2 separate regions of the Homo sapiens genome follow, and region 2 is linked to region 1. Evidence: promoter capture Hi-C in 16 types of primary human blood cells and fetal thymus (Javierre and others, 2016). All regions are on one chromosome and are shown on one strand. Each heading gives the region's core, a stretch centred on a gene start or on the middle of the fragment in contact. The rest is flanking DNA. Distances are from core to core; before and after follow the strand shown. Region 1 holds the start of SLC16A4 (solute carrier family 16 member 4). Region 2 overlaps SLC6A17 (solute carrier family 6 member 17).

Evidence for each region. Contacts are between HindIII fragments. The CHiCAGO score rates a contact against its expected background, and 5 or more counts as called.
Region 2: a contact is called between a fragment that was not itself captured here and the fragment with the promoter of SLC16A4 in region 1, in 3 of 17 cell types (M0 macrophages, M1 macrophages and M2 macrophages). The highest score is 6.8, in M0 macrophages.

What each region holds. Positions count from the first base shown.
Region 1 is chr1:110,386,882-110,393,867 of GRCh38, reverse strand. It overlaps SLC16A4 (solute carrier family 16 member 4), which reads left to right and starts at 2,842. Exons shown (of 9, transcript NM_004696.3): 1 at 2,842-3,003; 2 at 4,513-4,631. The coding sequence starts at 4,545. The HindIII fragment of the contact is 6,987 bases long and covers 472-6,986 here.
Region 2 is chr1:110,188,289-110,194,611 of GRCh38, reverse strand. It overlaps SLC6A17 (solute carrier family 6 member 17), which reads right to left. Exons shown (of 12, transcript NM_001010898.4): 7 at 2,399-2,640; 8 at 1,914-2,106; 9 at 1-33. Among named protein-coding and RNA genes, the nearest start is that of KCNC4-DT, 19 kb to the left of the region's middle. The HindIII fragment of the contact is 2,962 bases long and covers 3,438-6,323 here.

The sequences.
Region 1 (6,986 bases), core at 1,593-4,092:
ACATATCAAAATTCCAAGCTCCCGAAAAAAGCAAATGTTCAGCATAAAAATTGTATTGTTTACATAGTTTAAGCACAATGATTCACTATTATCATTTAAGGAATGGTAGGAACCCTCCTGAAATCTAAGTTCCCAGTTGCCAGCCAGAGGCCAACCATGTAAACAGGCCTTTCAAAGAATAGGAATCTCAGGCCAGCGATGTTAACTCTTTTCTGAACAAGGATTGAATGAGGGCAAGGAGAGAGTCAACTAAAAATAAAGTATCTTAATTCTAGTTGGTAAAGCTTATTAAAGTCTAAATCCATAAGTGTTAAAAATTATTCCTGGGCTGGCTATGTTTGACACTGGGATGGGGGTAATAGTGGTGATTGCCAAATCATGCTGCATTCTTGCTGAATAGCTTTAGGGCCAAGAGTTAAAAGGTTAGAAGTTGAGGGAATTGTTTATGTTTCGTTAAAGACCCTACAAGCTTTATTAAGACAATTGGGTACAGATGCCAAAATGTTAACTAATATCCCAAAGGTGGCTTAAGAATTCTTTCTTCTTGCTATTAGGCCTCATTTGACTAACAAAAATTATTTTTCATGAACCAAGTACCAATAGTAGGTCCAATGTGCAGTCATCTTACATTATATATTGTTAATCCTCACAACAACCTTGCAAAATATTAGCTACGCTTTAGAGTTTTAGAAACAGACTCAAAGAGAGTAAATTGCCCAGAGTCTACGGGCTTAAAAACTGACAAAATTGAGATTATCACCAAGCCTGCATTTCTGTTCATGTGCCTCTATGAAACATATGTTTGAAGTTCATCTCTGATTACTTTGCTGTCCTCTTGGCCTCTATGAATGACTTGCTGTTCTGCCGCATTTCAAATCTGACCCCAGGCATTAGCATCAGAGTTCTCTATCAATATAAAGCCTATTATAAGACAAAGATGAATAGGAATATATACACACATATATAATGTATTGTTTACATAGGTTAGGCACAATGATTCACTATTATCATTTAAGGAATGGTAGGAACCCTCCTGAAATCTAACTTCCCAGTTGTATATGTTCCTATATGTATATGTGTGTATATATATATTCCTCTGTGTGTGTGTGTGTAAGAAAAATATATATATAGCCTAGCATCATTTCATCCTGTGATTAGAATTATGGATAGCTGGCTCCTTACAGTGGTTTATGCCTGTAATCCTAATACTTTGGGAGGTCAGGATGGGAGGATCGCTTGAGCCCAGGACATTGCAAACAGCCTGGGCAACAGAGTGAAACCCCCATCTCTTAAAAAAAAAAAAAATTAATTAGCTGAGCATGGTGGTGCATGCCTGTAGTCCCAGCTACTCAGGAGGCTGAGGTAGGAGGATTGCTTGAGCTGGGGAGGTCAAGGCTGCAGTAAACCATGATTATGCCACTGACTCCAGCCTGGGCAATAGAGCAGGCCCTGTCTCAAGAAAAAAAGAAATCATAGATAGCCCTGCTTTAAAAGAGCAACAAGCGTGCCACCAAAAAAATAAATAAATCAGTCTTGTTTACTAAAAAATGTTTTCAGGCTGGCCACGGTGGCTTACGTCTGTAATCCCAGCACTTTGGCAGGCTAAGGCAGGCGGATTGCCTGAGCTCAGGAGTTTGAGACCAGCCCGGGCAACACGGTGAAACCCCGTTTCTACTAAAATACAAAAAATTAGCTGGGCGTGGTGGTATGCGCCTGTAGTACCAGGTACTTGGGAGACTGAGGCAGGAGAATCACTTGAACACGGGAGGCAGAGGTTGCAGTGAACCGAAATTGCACCACTGCACTCCAGCCTGGGCGACAGAGTGAGACTCTGTCTCAAAAAAAAAAAAGTTGTCTAGAGTGTATTCATAATTACAAACAGCTCTCTGAAAAGCATTTATTTGCCTTCTCTCTTTGGGTTTTCTCCTTCTGTTGAATGTTTATTTGATCCTTGCCACCAGCATCATGTAACTGCATAATCCTTCCATGCTTACACTTACAGGGCACCCTCCCAAACCACTAAGCTGTCCTTCTGCAAGCACTTTAATCAAAAAGTATTATAGAGTTTGATTTTAAGAATCTGAGAAGCCTCTTGCTTCTTAAAAAGGAACATGCATAAATATGTGCAGATTTTCCAGATAAAACTAAAAACACATCCTTTCGTCTAAAATATACTCTGGTTTAAAATCTGGAATATTGGTGTGGGAGACGAAAGACAATTTCCCATTTGACTTGTTTGTTTTGTTTTGTTTTATGTGGAGGGTAGAGGGAGGAAATGGGAAGAGAAAGTTGAATTATCCCAGTAATTTTCTAGGGGTCTCAGCCTTAACCATTTCCAAAATATAATAAAAAAAATCTCATTAAAATTACTACGAGCATACGTCTTTTGCAGGAGGTGGTTGAGGTAATCAGATCTCAAAAATGCAATTAAAATGGGGTCTGAAACCCCAAATTAGTAACCAGAATCTTTAGTCAATATACAAAAGGCCACACGAATGGGTTGAGCTTACTGAAGATTTCTGTTTGTGGCCCAGGAAATGCCTCTCTCACCACCCATCCAGGAGTTTTATATTCTCCTGTAAAATAAGCATGTTGTGAGAAGTTCCCTGAGGAAATTTGAAGACAAGTGTATGAGAGCTCTGGAGCCCCATCCCCCTGCCCTGAGCATAGTCGCCAAAAGGACTTTCCACTTAGTTTACTTCATGCTTGCTTTTGAGCCTGCGGCAAAAAATTCTACCTTCTGAGTGACTGTGGGTGGAGGGAGGGCCTGAGATGACATCAAATCACAGTCTTTCCTCCTCCCCTCAGGAAGTAAAGTCCACTAGCAGGAGGGCCTAAATCGTCTGAGCCCTCCTTGGCTCTTACAATGCTCACTTGTTTTCACAATGCAGCAAAATGAAATGCCTTAGAAAAAGAGTAACATTCCAGAAAACGGTGTAATTTATTTTTCTTCCTTAATTGCCCCATCTGTGGAGGATTTCTTTGCTGAACACCACATCAAAGGTAAGATGGGAATGGGACTGTGTGCTGGGTTGGTTTTCTAACAACGACTGGCATCTCTCCCCACCCAGCCTGCTCACCAGATGGCCATTCCGCATACCCTGCCAGCTGACTTTCCTTTCCAGTTAGAAACAGTCAGCCTTCGACCCGACAGGGGAAATAATGAGTACTGTTCCCCCTTCCTCAGAACATTTACATTTTCTTTTTGCTATCATTCTTTATATACACTTGTTTATTTTACGGAACCGATTGGGAGAAGGTAGCATAGTGTCATGTTACTCCTGAATACTTTAGCATGTATCTCCTAAGAATATTCTCTTGTGGAAGAGGTTCCAAGAGGTTAACCTTGGTACAGTATTCTGTATTATACAGTCCATATTCAAATTTCCCCAACTGTCCCCACAAACTGTCTTTTACAACTTTTTTTTCTGATCTAGGATATATTCAATAAGCGGGTATCGCATTTCGTTGTCATGTCTGTTTAGCTCCAAAAATATTTACATTTAGCAAGTGTTTTCTAAGGAGAATTCCTAAACTCAAGGCTCGCCTTCCCTTTCTATTTCTCTTAAGAGTTCACCCGGAGGACCAGCAGGGTGACGCACAGCTTCTCCAAGAAACTGGCTTGCAGACCTGGGGGGAGGGACACTGAGTACAGTTCTAGGAGTGGCCACCCCACAGTCACTGAGATCAGGCTTTCCAGGTAACTAAGTCCTTAGTTGCATCAGGCAGACTTCATCTGTAACTGAGGGGTTAAAAAAAAATTACAAGTGGTTTTATATCATAGGGAAAGAGGTTTTTTTTCTGTTTTGTATTACATTTCAACTTTTATTTTAGATTCAGGGGGTACATGTGTAGGTTTGTTACAAAGGCATATTGTCTGATGCTGAGATTTGGAGTATAATTGAACCCCTCACCCAGATAGTGAGCACAGCATCCAATAGGGAGTTTTTCAACCCTCCTCCCTCCCTATCTTGTAGTCCCCAGTGTCTGTGGTTCCCCTCTTTATGTCCATATGTACCCAATTTTTAGCTCCCACTTATAAGTGAGAACATGCAGTATTTGGTTGTTTCTGCATCAATTTGCTCAAGATAATGGTCCAGCTGCATCCATATTGCTGGAAAGGATATGATTTTGTTCTTTTTTATGGTGGCTGTGTAGTATTCCATGGTGTCTATGTATCACATTTTCTTTATCCAACCCACTGTTGATGAGCACGTAGGTTGATTCCATGTCTTTGCTATTGTGAATAATGCTGCAGTGAACATAAAAGTGCATGTGGCTTTTTGGTAGAACAATTTATCTTCCTTTGGGTATATACCCAGGAATGGGATTACTGGGTCAAATGGTAGTTCAATTTTTGGTTCTTTCAGAAATCTCCAAACTGCGTTGCACAGTGGCTGAACTAATTTGCATTCCCACCAACAATGTATGAACGTTCCCTTTCAGATAAAAAGTTTAAAAGTTTAGATTAGTTTCTGGTCCACTGAATCAACTGTCTTGGATTTATCACAGGGATCTTCTGCATTTAAAATAGAAGAGGCATCATGCTGAAGAGGGAGGGGAAGGTCCAACCTTACACTAAAACCCTGGATGGAGGATGGGGATGGATGATTGTGATTCATTTTTTCCTGGTAAGAATTCACTTTTTTCCCCCTTTCCTATTGCCTAAAAGCAGGCTTTCTGGAGAAAGGCTCAGAGCTGCCTACGAATAGGATCACTTAGGAAATCTTTGGCATCTGAGTGGAGGGGTGGGCAGGAACAAGGCCAGGAGCTGCCAAAAACTGCTAAAGTCAGAGGCCCATGCCGAACCCAGGAGAAAGTTGAAAATGCCCCTAGAGCAAAAGCAGAAATGTTCCTGGGCTGGGTGTGGGGGCTCACACCTATAATCCCAGCACTTTGGGAGGCCTAGGTGTGTGGATCACTTGAAGTCAGGAGTTCGAGACCAGCCTAGCTAACATGGTGAAACCCGATCACTACAAAAATACAAAAATTAGCTGAGTGCAGTGGCATGCACCTGTAGTCCCAGCTACTTGGGAGGCTGAGGCAGGAGAATTGCTTGAAATCAGGAGGTGGAGACTGAAGTGAGCCAAGATCGTGCCACTGCACTGCAGCCTAGGCAACCATGAGAGACTCTCTCAAAACAAACAAACAGAAGTGTTCCTGAATCCAGTCATCTACTCTTCCTATCATCTCTTAAACCTGAGAATGCTCAGTCACAATCAGCAGTTCTGTACTGGCTGCATGGCAATTAGGGTTTGGGGACAATCATACTTTTAACCATCCCAAAAGTAGCACTGGGAGGTGCTAAAAAGTGCTCTGGGGGTGATCTCCCCAGTTCAGCCCAGCATAGATAGAACACTGTGGGCACAGCCCCTTCTACCGATAAGGGGTGGGGACATTTCCTCTGTTTGGCCTGCTGTCTACTTCCCAATCCATCCCCACTAACTATAGTTTATGCTATCTATATTTCCGATGTGTTTGGAAAGGGAGGACAAGGATTTTGAAGGGGGAGCCTGATTCTTCTCCTTTACCCATAAGCAACTAGACGAGGCATTCCATTTTTTAAATTAACTTCTTTCCCTCACCCTCCCAGGGGTTGAGGTGTGAGAGTGGTGATCTGCATCATCAGCATGCCCATTCCAGAATGTTGGTGAACCCCAGCTATGCCCCACACAGCTCTCCAGAGAGTGGCACCAGCTGCACAATTCTTAAGTGTTTCCAGAGTTCTATTAACTTTGAGATGCACTCAAAAAAAAACACCCTTTTCTTGCCGACACTTCCCCCCTACTCAGCCCTACAGTAAGCAGCTCACGGGGAAAGGTAGCACAGGTCTTGGTGCCTTCTAATAATCCTATAGTTCACATGCAGATATCTAAGAATTCTACAAATAGGATGGTGGGAAAACATCAGGCCTCCTCCCTCGTGCTAGACAAGATAGGGGCAGAGGTCCCCAGCCAGGATTTATGTAATACAAAACTCTTAACACATAATAGTAGTACTTGCTAAACATTAGCTTCAGTACTAAACAATCTCATTTTCCCCCTAGAAATGTTACTAATAGGGAAACTAAAGGATGCCCTAAGTCTGAGAGCCCTTCCTGGGGCTGGGCCACCCCCCTAAATCATAGGCTTTGCAGAATAGGCACTGTTGGTGAGGATCTCTAATTCTCCTGCCTTTCTCCCCAGTAACCACCCTGACTTTTTCTACATTATCCTCTGAGGATAGAATGGTTTTTGATCAATTTAGTTGCTGATAGGAAAAACCATCTAATAACCAGATTAATAAACACTGTCCCACTTTTAGGGTGTGATACTGCTTACTAAGCACAAAAAATGCACTGGATCCTCAAAATGTTAACAATAAATTCAGGGGCTAATCCCCCACAGTTGTAATGTGGATACTTGAATGACTGTGCTTTTGTTTCTGTATGACTTACAACTGTTCTTTTCTATAACAGATGAGCTCCTAGTAAGTGAAAAATAACAATGTTCTTTGGGAGCTTCCTACTTAAAAAAAGAGAGAGAGATTCATTCTAACCAACTTACCACACTTTATATATTTGTATGACTGTTTTCTGTATTCAGTCTGTCTTACTAGACTGAATGTTCCATGGGGGCAGGGTCTATGTCTGCATTGCTCATGAGTATATGCTCATTACCGTAAGCCCAGTGCCAGTATACAGCCTGGAACATAGTAGGCACTCAGTAAAATACTGTTGGTGGATGGATAGATGGATGGATGAATTGATAGCTGCACACATTTATGAATAAACAAATAAGGATGAAGGGGATAGTTGATGAAACTGAAGAGATGAGAATGGCTCTTGAGGCTATGAGAAGCTAATGAGAAAAATTAAGCAGGGATGTGATAGATTTGCATTTCAGAGAAATGTGACGAGCAGATGCTACTGAGAGGTCAAATAGGAGAGAAATAACAAGACTCTATTGGTTTAGCAACAAAGAAATCTAATAACCTTGATAAGAGCT
Region 2 (6,323 bases), core at 3,669-6,168, 200 kb after region 1:
GGCGATGAAGGCCAGGCCTGTGCCCTGCACGGACTGAAGGTGGGGTGGAAAGCAGGGCCTGTGAGGTCACCCCTCCCTGGGGAGCCCACTGCTTCCTTCCCTCTGCCCTTCAAACTTTTGGAATAACTATTCCCTCTTTCACAGGGGTTCCCACCTCCACCTAAATCCTGTTGATTTTGGCCAGTGGGTCTCGAACTTTAGCAGGCATTGGAATCCCCTAGACGTAGCTCAAAAACACCAACTTGGGAGTTCACCTGTGGGACCTGGAATCTACGGGTTGTACCAGGAGCTTAGGTGATTCAAGTGAAGATGCTCATGTTTAGAAATACACCCAGCTCAGGACCCTGCTCCTCTAAGATGTCTTTCCTGATTGCTCCAGCCACACTGTGGCCGCTCCCAGCTCAGAACTTCTGAACTGCAGATCTTCATGCAGTGGTCTCAGCCTCGGCTCTCAATGGAAGCACACCGGAGCCTTTAGAAACACCGACACCTGGGTCTCACCCCACGGACAATGACTGGATTGGTCTGGGGTGAAGCTGGGTGTCAGAGTTTTTTTTTAAAACAAACAAAAATACCCCAGGAACTCTAATGGGTAGCCAAGGTAGAGAATCACTGCTTTAATGCTTGGGCCATGCTTGTGGGTCAGGTGACCACACACTGCCCCCTGTCACTTACACGTTGCCCTGTAATGTTCAGTGATTGTAAGGGAACATTTCTTCCCCACTAAGTGAGTGTATAATCTTGTCATTTGAATGCTATCGGAGTTGTATTGTATGAAAACACTGCTATAAACCTAGTTTAATTCAGAGAACCAGGCCATGCCCATGAGAACTGAGCAGGGTTTCAGAGAATGTGAAAAGGGGAGGTCCTTTATGCTGCCAGTTACCTGGGGAAGAAACCAGGGCAGTGGGCCCGAGATTGGGCTCTTTTGCTCTTGATCCGCAGGGAAAGGGTTGGGGTGTAGGATGCAGCTCCCTCAGCATTAGGATGGTACCATCCAATGGAGCTGACTTTTAACATAGAGCCCAGGGAAAGCACCCCCTTCCCCAGTCCCATGAAGGACAGGGTTGACCCAGGCTGATGGGAGCTGGCTCCGCCCCATGTGAGCCTTGGCTCCAGCCTGGTTCCCAAGATGCTGTGGGTATGTCCCTTTCCTGTTACCCCTTCTAACAGAACAGTCATTTTGAAAGTGTCCAGCTATGTAAGTATAAATAGAAGCAAGGTGTCCTAACATGGGCCTGAGCACTGAGGAGGAGTCAGCACCCCCAGCACCACCCTAAAGTCTAAGAGTCATCATGGCAGTGAGATTGGAATGGGGACAGGTTGGGGAGGGGCAGAAGCATCAAGAGGTGATCCTGAGCATGGGCTCTGGACCCAACTAACTGGATTTGGACCCAACTAACTGCCTCTCTGACTTACTAGTTATGAGACCTTGATCAAGCCCCCCATCTCATAGGCTACTCATCTGTAAGGTAGGGAACAATATGAATACTCAACTCATAGAGCTGTCTTGAGCGTCAAAAGAGATAGACAGCAACGGGCAAACACTAACTTCAACACTTCTTTGATGCACACCATGTCAAGGCACTGTTCTGAGTATATTACCTGTGGCAGTGACTGATGCACGAGAAGCCCACTCAGTAAATGGAAACATCGTCCCATACACTTACTGTGACTTCTGAGAGGTGTGTGTCTGCCCTACTTCTTGTCTAGGCTCAAGCCTACCTCTGGGCAGGGACTTTGGCCAATACCTTTCTTCCCTTTCACTCCCTCTGGACACACAGCAGATCCTTGCTTACCAAGTAAACTAATGACTACCTGTCAGCATCCTGAGGCCTGAGCCCAAGCTCCCGCCGGCCACAGCTGCTCTCTGGGTTCCTGCCTGTCCTGGGAAGGGCAGCCTGTCCCCGCACCTTGTCCAGCTCGTCCTCCAGAAGGCAGGGGTCAAGGCCCAGGGCTGAGAACTGGTCCTCCTTCACGGTCATGATGACATTGTACATCTCCATGTAGTCCTTTGTGGTCAGGTGGGAGAAGTTGACGTGGGGTGGGATGAGGTCCCGGCTCAGGACGTTGGTGTTAAGGTACCCTAGGATTTTCTCAGCATTCCTGCAGCACAAAACCGAGAGGACCAGGTAAGAAGGCAGGGGTGGGCAATGGGTGAGATCCTGGAGGCTCTTCCCAGGCACCCAGGTGGGAACCTCATGGGTCACTGACAGAGGCATCTCTGAGCTTGTCCCTGTGGCCCGGAGCTGGGGACAGAGAGTGCTCCTCTGATCTCCATTCCTCAGTCTGAGTGGAGGGGACCTCTCTCCCCATGCACACCTGCGCCCCCACCCCTGCCCACTCCCAGGTAAGGTAGACAGGGAGAAGGAGGGACAGGAGGAGAGATGCCACCTACTCGACCACACACTTCTCATTCATGATGTTGGCCTTGAAGCCCAGCACAGCAAACACCACGAGGGTGGCCAACACTGACGTGAAGAAGTTGATGAAGGACACCAGGGCGGCATCGAAGTGGCAGTTGTTGTCCTGCTTATTGTAGCTGGAGAAGGCAATGACACCACCAAAGCCCAGGCCCAAGGCAAAGAAGACCTGGGTAGCTGCCTCCCGCCACACCTGGGGGTCCAGCATCTTGTCCAGCTATGGCAGAAGACCAAGGCAGGAGGAAGAAAAGAGACACAGAGGGGATGGTTTTATTCATGTGCACACCCCCTTTCTCAGCCTCAACAGAGTTCAGAGGCAGCAGCCCATAGTGGTAAGAAGCTGTGTGAACTTGGGCAATTTCCCTACTCCTCTGAGCCTCAGTTTCCCCAATACGCAGATCACAAGAGTATCAACTTCAGAGGATGACTGTGAGGACTTGGTAAGACAACATAAATGCTGAGTGCTTACATAGTAATTTAACTGCTACCATGGCTTCCCATGCAGCCATCATACTAAGGAACATCGTCAAGGCCATCACATATGGTCATGTAGTACACAGCTCTAGAGAGTGCCATTCACTTGGACTACAGTGTGACAGGTGCCTCCTAGAGTCCTGCAGTGAACAGCTTGCACAGCAGCACAAGAAAACTGAGAATACCAGAATCTCCCTGACGCCTTCTCCACCTCAAACTCCTCTACCTCATGAAAGGAAAAAAAACCCAAACCGCCTGCTTTTCCCCACCATCACCCAACCTGAAGCACAGAACCTAGACAATTCCTGGAGAAAGGGCCTCCGCCTAAGCTTCCATCTGCCCTCACACCTGACAGGAGCCCGAACTGCAACAGCATTGGGATGGCATGGAGCAATTTCCAAAGCCCCTTTCCAACCTATTTTCCTTTTATTGTTTGTTCCTTGGGGCAGGGACCAAGCCTTGGACCCAGCACAGAGCTTTAGAGTCTCAGACAGATCCAGATCCAAATCCTGACTCCCATCTTTAAATGGCTATGAAGCTTTTGGTAAGTGGCACTGACTGTGTTATGAGCTTCAGATTACTCATCTGAAGAAAAGGGAATAGTAATAGAGTCTCGGAGTGAACGTGAGGATCAAATGTATAGCAACAAGTAATGCCTGTACGTAGTGGCACTCAATCCCAACAGAATGAGGCTGACCTCGTCAGGACAGGGTGTTTTGTGTTTTGCGGGGGTGCAGGAAGCAAGGATTACTATTCATGTTTTTAAAGGGTAAACTGAGACCCCAAAGATGAAATGACTTGCTCAAGGTAATGGAGCTGGTTAGTCGGGGCAGAGTGATAACTAAAATATAGATATTCTGGGCCAGGCCCCCGCCCCCGGCCCCAGCACCAACTCCTGACTCAGTTTTTCTATCACCTATACTCTTTAAAGCATTTTCCCCTGTGACCTTTGCTGCTGAGGTGAACCTAAGTGACCTCACTCCAGACAGACTAAGGAGGCAAGGAGCCAATTCAGAGAGTTCACTTCCCTGTGGTGACAAGCCCTGTGTGGGTCCTGGCCCGGCTGCCCCTTCTGAGTACCTGTGGGTAAGTCCTCACCTGAACAGTGAGGTGTTGGACTCTAGGGTCCGTCTGGACTTTAGCTGTCTTTAATATCACAGCCCTAAATAACATCCAGGACACAGGGCCCACCTGCCATCATCTCAGCAGCTTCCTAGGCATGTCTCAACTCCTGGCAGCACTCCAACAGCTGAGATGTTGGCAAGCTCAGAGCGCTGGCAGAGCAGTGAGGCTGAGGGCGGCACCCCCATGCTGAGGGGAAAGAGGTGGGGGATGGTAGTCGAGCCTTTGAGCTTCAGGGCCTGGGCACAAATGGAGACCCAGGAGGACTGCCTGGTCAGACAGCATGTGTACTCCAGGGGAGATTAAGGTCCCCCATCCAGCACAAAATAAGTAAAACCATCTTTAGTCCACCAAGAAAGCCCAGAACCCAGGCCTTAAGGATCTAAGGGCCCCTTGGCATCTATGAGGAGACCCTCTCCCCAGCCCACCCCTGTGTACTTATTAGGTATAAGGTGTCAAGGCCTCCCTGTGGCAATGACATGTAGCCACTCATCCATCAATCTCTGAGCACCTGCTGTGGGCCAGGCCTGGTGCTAGGCGATGCAGAGGCCATGGGGAATAGAAGCAATCAGGCTCTCCAAGTTTACATTCTAGTTGGAGAGAGACACATTGGTCAAATGATCCCACGAACAAATGCTAAATTGCAAATGTGACAAGGGCTGTGAAGGCTGGGCACCCAGTGCTTGGAGAGCCCATAAGAAGGGGATCTGAACAAGTTGGGAGGCCAGGCAAGGCTTCCCAGAAGAAGGGGTCCTCAAGCTGACATTTGAAAGCTGATGAAAGCGAGGCCACAAGGGGAGGGAAGAACATTCGGGAAGAAGCATGGACAGAGGTCCTGAGATAGGACAGAGGATGGTGTGTAAAAGGGAATGGAAGGTGCCAGGGTGGCTGAAGCAGTGAGGACGAGGTGGGGGTGGCACAGGTAGGGCTGGGAGAGGAGAGAAGTTAGATCAAAGGCCTGTACAGATCCTGTCTTCACCCTAAGAAAGCACCTAACCCAAGAAGCCACCGAGGGGTTTAAAGAAGTGGGGACACAATCATGTGCATTTCCAAAAGAAATAAGTGGATTCAGCAGACCTTCGAGGAAGCGGCTTCTGGGGTCCAGGCTGGAGGGGACAGTGGCTTTGCTAAGGGGCTGGGTGGTGCCAATGGAGAGATCTTCGCAGGACAAACCAAGGAGACCTTCGGGATGGACTGGAGATGGGAGATGCTGGAGAGGGAGAGGCCGAGGTGAGGGCCATGTCTCTGGCCTGCATACCTGAGCAGGTGGAGATGGGGACAGTGGGAGAGGAACAGGTTGATGGTGTTGGGCAGGGAGGATCAGGACATTAGTTCTACAAAGGTTGAGCTGAATGTGTCTTTAAGACATCTAAAATGAAATGCCAAGTGGTCCGCTGGACAGATGAGCCTGGAGCCAGAGAGAGACAAGCTGGAGATAGACTTTCTGAGTAGCAGGTGTGCTGGCAGGAGCTGAGGCTGTGGCTGTAGTTACAGAGGGATAAGAAGCAAAAGCCTGCTCCTATCTCCAACACTGAATGCAGGGAAGAGGGAGAGTCTCCTGAAAGGGAGTCAGAGAAGGAGAAGCAGCAGAGGCAAGAGGAAAACCCAGAGCCTGGAGGAGGAAGGGTCAGTGCTGCCAGTGAAAGACCCTGAGGGAGTCCACGCAGGAGGCCACAGGGGGCTTCAGAGGCTTCCTCGGAGTTGCTCCCTGGCAAGAAGCCAGGGGAAGTGAAGAAAAGAGAGAGGCAGAGGGGAGGAAATGGAGGCAATGTGGGTAAGCAGGTCCTCGGAGAAGCAAGCCTCGGATCAGGAGAAGGGCAGTATCCGGAGAAGGCTATGAAATCAACAAAGGGTTGCATTTTTATATGTTGTCTTGATTTCTTTTTTGTTTTTGTTTTCAATGGAGTGTCTTGAAAAGCTGGAGGGTAGGGATCGGGATGGGGTGGGAAGCTGTCCTCCATAGGACCACCCTTGGGCTGCTCATTTGAGAGAGGAGGGAGGGAGGACAGGATGGGGCAGCTGCAGGCAGGTTTTATGGTCGGTTTCTGTCTCTGTCATCTGAGGGAGTTTCTTGGCAGCTTCTGTTTTCCCTGTAAAGCAGGAGGCAAAATCATCTGCTGGGGATGAGTATGCCGGAAGGAAGGTCAGAGGGTGTGAAGGATTGGAAGGGTTTAAAATAGCCACAGCGGAGCATGGGAGAGCCAGGTGACCAGAGAAACAGGGCAGGGCTGTCCTGTACTGCTGGGGGCCCACCCCCTTGCATAGGCGGATGTCTGGTTTTTAAAGTAAGATGAAATGTTACCT